Linked DNA regions of Homo sapiens: region 1 is linked to region 2. Evidence: promoter capture Hi-C in human tissues and cell types (Jung and others, 2019). All regions are on one chromosome and are shown on one strand. The core of a region is centred on a gene start or on the middle of the fragment in contact, and the rest is flanking DNA. Distances in the headings are between cores, read along the strand shown.

Region 1 (2,879 bases), core at 108-2,607, 1.4 Mb after region 2:
TAAGTAGTATGGGTTATACACTTGAGAAAACACTATAAATCAGTGCCTACAATACCAGGAGGAGGACATTTTAATTTTTAGATGGACACGGGGCTGATCTATTTGTGGCAATCTTTGCAATACAATAAATAAGATCTATTTTAAGTGGAGAGTTCAATGTGAAATGGGCACACTATGTATTTTATTGATTTTTTGGTAATAATTGAAGGCTTTGAGAAGCCTCAGTGCATTAGGATATTGTTAATGCGCAACATGGAGAGACTTTAAAACAAATGCTAGGGATTAGAGTATAGATCAGATAGCTGGCAAATCTATAGGAAGGGAAAAGTAATTTTAAACACACAGCATTTGTTTCCTGCTGCTCTATCACAATAGCTAGGTTTTTAAATAAGTAGGCTTTATACCAAGCCATAAAAATGAATTGCTGGGGCTCTTTGGGACTAGGGAAGGCGGGAAATTTTAGATATTGCTGTTGGCTTAGTGAAAATGCATGCTTACCCGGTCACCTGTGGCTCCAGCAGGACCAGGGGCACCTACAGCACCAGGAGCACCCTAGTACCAAAAAGGAAACATGTCTTATTAATAACACCCCGTATCATCAAAAGTGAACCTTGTCATTCTTTTTTTCTGTGCTTATACAGTGACTGAACACTTTCACTGCACTCTGGTTGGATATCTAGAAGGCCTCTGATGTATTTTGGTTCTAATTAACAAGACTATTAGAAGCCACTCTCAGAAGGAGGGTACTCCAGTAATAAAGGTTATGGAAATGTGTAAGTCAATAGCAGGTCAGAAATTTGGGAGATCTGAACTTTCCGCTATTGTAAAATTCCCTGGAGAGCAGCAAATGAGTAGCCTTGTTTGAAACTGTTAGAACTACGTGATTCAAAAGAAAGACTATTACAGATGTGCTACAGTCAGTTTTCAGCTCTGAAGGAGAGGTGAATAAAGGAATCCAGGCCGACTGTGGCCTAGAAGACCCATGAGGCTGACATACGAGATAAGGTAATTAGACTGTCATGGGATTATCTTTGGCATCTTCATGGCATTAACAGCTAATCTTTGGGGCTGCTCTTTGGGTGATAAATTTCTAGGGAGTAGGTTTGAATAACTATAGAATCTTGTTAGAGGTCCCGGCTTCCTAAAGCATAGGAGACTTATTTATTTATTTATTTTAATCTCTGTTATCACTTGAAGCAATCATTTAATATTCTATTAAACCTAAAGCTTTTGGTCTATAGTTTGTAGTTGGTATCATTGACACTAGGGAAGTTAGAAAATTCAGGATATTATTTTCAAAGAGGTTAAATCCCATTTAATTTTTCCTTTGGAACATGTAAAATGATATTATTAGTCATAGACCCAGGAGAGAAAGGAATATTATTTTATTAAACTTGATAAATAAAGTGTGTGTAGTTCTAATTTGGAAAACTTCTCAATTCAAACATAAAAAAAAAATCCAAGTACGAAGAAACATACAAACAAAATTCTACTCACACGAGCACCATCTCTGCCAGGGTTACCAATTTCACCTCTGAGACCAGGTTCACCCTGAAAGTATAAAGCAAGAGCAACTTTTTGTTTTCTGACCAAAATTTTGAATCGAAATTAATATGAAGTTTTTTTCTTTTTTACAGAAGATGCTATGATACCTTCAGTCATTTAAGATTTTTAGCAATGTCTCGATTCCTTACCATTCTGTAGAATGTTAATCGAGAAAAATAATGAGGAAAAAATAATTCAAGGCCATTTCCAGATTATTGTTAAACAATCTTTTCTAATTTCCGTACACTCTCCTGAAGCATAATCAAGCAAGGTACAGATTCATGTGGACAGAATTGTAAGGCAACATCACAATGGGCTGCAGCGCCTGATCACTCTTACGGCATAACTAATGCAGCAGCATGGTTGACAGCTGTTCAATGTAGCTTCTTCCCATTAATTAGGACAGGATGAGGCATTATTGTTAGTGGCATTAAAATGAGCCTCATGTATTACTCAACACCATCTGTTTGTGTGAAATTCCATGGTAGCAAGGAATTTTGCCAGATTAGTGAGTTTAGAAATGTGTAGGTGCTAGGTGGCAGAGGGAAATGTATATAGATAGATATGAAAATGCTACCAGACCACCTGCCAAGAATTGTGAAAACTTGGGCATCCTTGTGCAGCCTTCTTTACTAGAGTTCATCAACAATATGTAATAGGGGTCAACACGTACCTTTTCTCCCTTGCCTCCAGGTATGCCAGCAGCACCCCTCTCTCCTGGGAGTCCACTAGGACCAGATGGACCAGCAGTGCCCACAGCACCAACCACACCAGGTTCACCCTTGAGTCAAACACATGTGAAATCAATTTTAGTGGAGAAAGAAGAAAATGAAGAATCAAACTCTAGAAGAATTCCAATTTAAACAGCTAGCTAGACAGGCTTCTTGCCTGCTTTGAAACACAAAGAAGGCTGGGCTATTGAAAGGAGGGAGAATATAGCAGAGAGAGATGCTGTTAATGACATGGTGACTGAAGAGATGAGGGTAGTGGGAGTGCACAGCTGCGATTCCTCTATAACCTGCTTCAGTCCTCTTAAGGATGGCAGGCATGGAGAAGAGGATAGGACAATGGGAAGCAGAGAGTAAAAAATGTTTACCCACAAACATTTTTCAAGGATAAGTCTCTTAGCCCAGATAGAAAGCATGGAAAGAGACCTTGTCAATTGAGGAGATGTTTGTGTTTTAATCTCCTTAAGAGTAGAGACTGTATCTTCCATTTTTATATAAAACCCTACAATTCCACATACTTAAAACCTGTTGACTAGCTTCTGAGATACATAGATCCCTTTGAAAGTACTACCTCACAAAACCGTGGTTTCTTTATTTCCTCTCTCC
Region 2 (3,292 bases), core at 300-2,799:
ATGAAGAGAACATGTGGTAACTCAGTGGCAGGTGTTTCAGATTTTATTTTATTGAGAAATATGATCAAAAGAGCTGAGTTAGGACCCCTTTTTCCACACCAAACCTTTTTGAACAAACTTGGCATTTTAAATAATTAGAGGTAGTATTACATTCTCACCAGTACCCTCAGCTTGCAAATTGCACTGAATATTCCCTTTTCAAATTTACTAACACTGATCAACGTATATCTCTATAATTTCCACAATTAAAGTATGTACACAGACTGGTTACCCATGTCTGTGTTAACATCAGGCGTTGGGTTGTCACCTGCAGTTGCCTATGCCTTACTGTTAGCTATACTTTTTGCTAATCTGGAATATTTGGAAGCAATTCTTCACAACTCTGAACTACAATAAGTCTACAATGCCCACTTGAAAGGCATTCCAAGCAAGAAAATGGCTGGCTACTTGTTCCTGCCCCTTACCTAGGATTAGTAGAGGCCAGAATAGCGAATATATTCCATCTTCTGCATGTTGTTGAGTCTCTGATCTCCTATGTAATTTCCTGTCCTGATCCTGGGCTTCTGTTTAATCTTATTAGCCAAGGTACAAGTCATGAGACTCCCGCACACTCAGTTCCCATCAGCGCTGCCAGGATCACTGCCCTTATGATGACGACGCACGGATTTATAAGGCCAGAGCGATTCCGAATGGGAGCGGGGGAAGGAGAGCCAGGCGGCCGTGAAGGTGTTTACCAAAACAACATCCCCCAGCCACACTTTTTCGCAGCAGAGAGAAACTGGCATCTTCTCGCTTTGAAGTGTTTAATTAATGCCCTGCTGGAAGTGAATTCGCTCCCTCCGACTTGCAGGGTAGTGACAGCATCTAAGAGCTTTGCAGACAGCTCGAAATGTAATCAAACAGCATCCTTTCCCCTCCCTCTGCAGCTTTCCCCCTCCTCCAGGGGCAGTCAGCCGGTGGCCCAGAGGGGTGCAGATTTCAGCGCCGCTCGCCCACTGCTCCCCCGGGGAAGACCGAGGCGGGGCGCACTGGGACGCCCTTCCCAGCCCACAAGGTGGGCGACCAGGTGGTGACACCACGACCCTTCCTTCTCTGCCCTAGTCTCTCGGCTCTGCCGAGAGGGGGGTGTCACTGGGGGGCTTTGGCCGCCTTCGGGCTCAGCGGAGCACGCAGGAGCCTGGGCAGGGGGCCAGGACAAGGGTCCGGCTGCGGCTGCAGGGGCCTCGGCTCCAGCCTGGTTCCCAGCGCAGACGACACCGGGGTGGGGAGGGTTGGGGAGAGGTGCGGAGGCGGCCGTCCGGGGAGCGGCGACATCCCGCTCCAGTTTACCTGGACGCGCTCGGCAGCGGCGGAACTGGGCTCCCCGAGCCGGCGGCGGCTCCTGGGCGGCGGCAGCGTTGGTGCAGGCGGCTCCCGAAGGTGGCGGGGCCGGCGCGGGCAGGATGTGCTGTCTCACGCTGCGCCGGCCGCTCGGCTCGCGCTCCTCCGGGAGCGATCACTTCCTCTCTCCCAGAGCCTGACACTGACAGCTCCCCGGAGCACTCAGTCTGCGGGGCTCGCCCCGCCCCCTGCCCACGCCCTCCACGCCCGCGCCCCTCCTGAGGGAGGGCCTCCGCTCCGCGTCTTCCGCGCCCGGTCTCGCCAGGAGGGGGTGGCGCCGCTCCGTAGGCTGGTGGCGAGCAGAGGACCTGGAAAGGTCAATTCGTCTATCCCTCTAACGTCGGTAGGACTTAGACCTCAGTTGCTGCAAAGAGAAGAGCTTCAATATTCTGGGAGCTCCTGCTGAAATGCCACCATTGAACAACTTTCACTCCCAGGCAACTACACTTCTTAAGGTCATTTAAATAGAAATAAAGCTCAGATCTACCTGTTGTACACAATGACTTATAGGTCTGATTGATCCCAATTTTTCTAGAAGAAAAAAGAATTAAGTGTGTGTGTCTGTGTGTGTGTGTGTGTGTGTGTGTGTGTGTGTGGTGTGGTGTGTGTGTAGCTTGTCTTCACATTGCTTCTTAAAGTCCCAGCTTTTAAAAATCTGGGTAACTGGCCAGACGCGGTGGCTCACGCCTGTAATCCAAGCACTTTGGGAGGCCGAGGAGGGCGGATCACCTGAGGTCGAGAGTTGGGGGACCAGCCTGACCAACATGAAAAAACCCCGTCTCTACTAAAAATACAAAATTAGCCGGGCGTGGTGGTGCATGCCAGTAATCCCAGCTACTCGGGAGGCTAAGGCAGGAGAATGGTTGAACCCGGGAGGCGGAGGTTGTGGTGAACCGAGATCCCGCCACTGCACTCAAAGCCTGGGCAACAAGAGCGAAACTCCGTCTCGGGGAAACAAAAAAAAATCTGGGTAACTATTATTGGACTCTGCAAAAAACAAGCTTGCCACAACAGCTAAGTTATAAGGCCAAAAAATTGAGTTTGGGATGTTAGGGGGTTTGGTATCATTTTATAGATGAGCTTTTCATCATATTTCTTGCACATCTGTGGTGTATTTTTACACATTAGAATGTAAATTAGTGGAGGGCAGGGACGCTATCTTGTTCACTGCTGTATTCTTAGTATCTAGAACAGCATTCTGATATATAATGGGTACTCAGTAAATATTTATGAACTTATTAATTCACAAGTACTACAGTAATTTCAAAATAAATACAGATTCTAGTATGAATACAGTATGAATACATACTCATCTGTAAATGGCCATCCTTATTCTAAAACTTTGGCCTCCCTGGCTAATCTACTGCGATTGTAACTATGGCTAGAAATGAAGAGGTTAAATGTCTAGGTAGAAGGTATTCAAGGTATTCCAGAAGGAAAAATCTAGGAAATAAATATTTGCCACTACCGTGACTGAATATTTAATACATGTCAATTCTACATACATTTTTCTTTAACTTTTCTATAACATTATGTAGTACATATAACGAATGCCATGCCTCCAGAAAAGGAACTTGAGTCAAAGAAGTTAACTCCCTTGCCCAAGTTCCATAACCACTGAGTGATCTAGCTGAGATTTGAATTCCCATTCATCTGCAGCTTGTACTTTAACTACTTTGTATTTTGGTCTTTCCAACATGGCATTGCTTTTGTTGTTGTTGTTGTTTTGTTTGTTTGTTTGTTTGTTTTTTGAGACAGAGTCTCCCTCTGATGCCCAGGCTGGAATGCAGTGGCACAATCTCGGCTCACTGAAACCTCCATCTCCTGGGTTCAAGCGATTCTCCTTCCTCAGCTTCCTGAGTAGCTAAGATTACAGGTGCACACCACCTAGCCCGGCTAATTTTTGTATTTT

Evidence for each region. Contacts are between HindIII fragments. The study calls those that stand out against the background at their distance.
Region 1: a contact is called between a fragment that was not itself captured here and the fragment with the promoter of DYNC1I1 in region 2, in 1 of the 25 tissues and cell types used here (small bowel).

What each region holds. Positions count from the first base shown.
Region 1 is chr7:94,417,171-94,420,049 of GRCh38, reverse strand. It overlaps COL1A2 (collagen type I alpha 2 chain), which reads right to left. Exons shown (of 52, transcript NM_000089.4): 32 at 2,219-2,326; 33 at 1,498-1,551; 34 at 499-552. Among named protein-coding and RNA genes, the nearest start is that of COL1A2, 24 kb to the right of the region's middle. The HindIII fragment of the contact is 6,036 bases long and covers 1-2,879 here.
Region 2 is chr7:95,770,811-95,774,102 of GRCh38, reverse strand. DYNC1I1 (dynein cytoplasmic 1 intermediate chain 1) reads right to left here and starts at 1,549. Exons shown (of 17, transcript NM_001135556.2): 1 at 1,330-1,549. The HindIII fragment of the contact is 6,379 bases long and covers 1-3,292 here.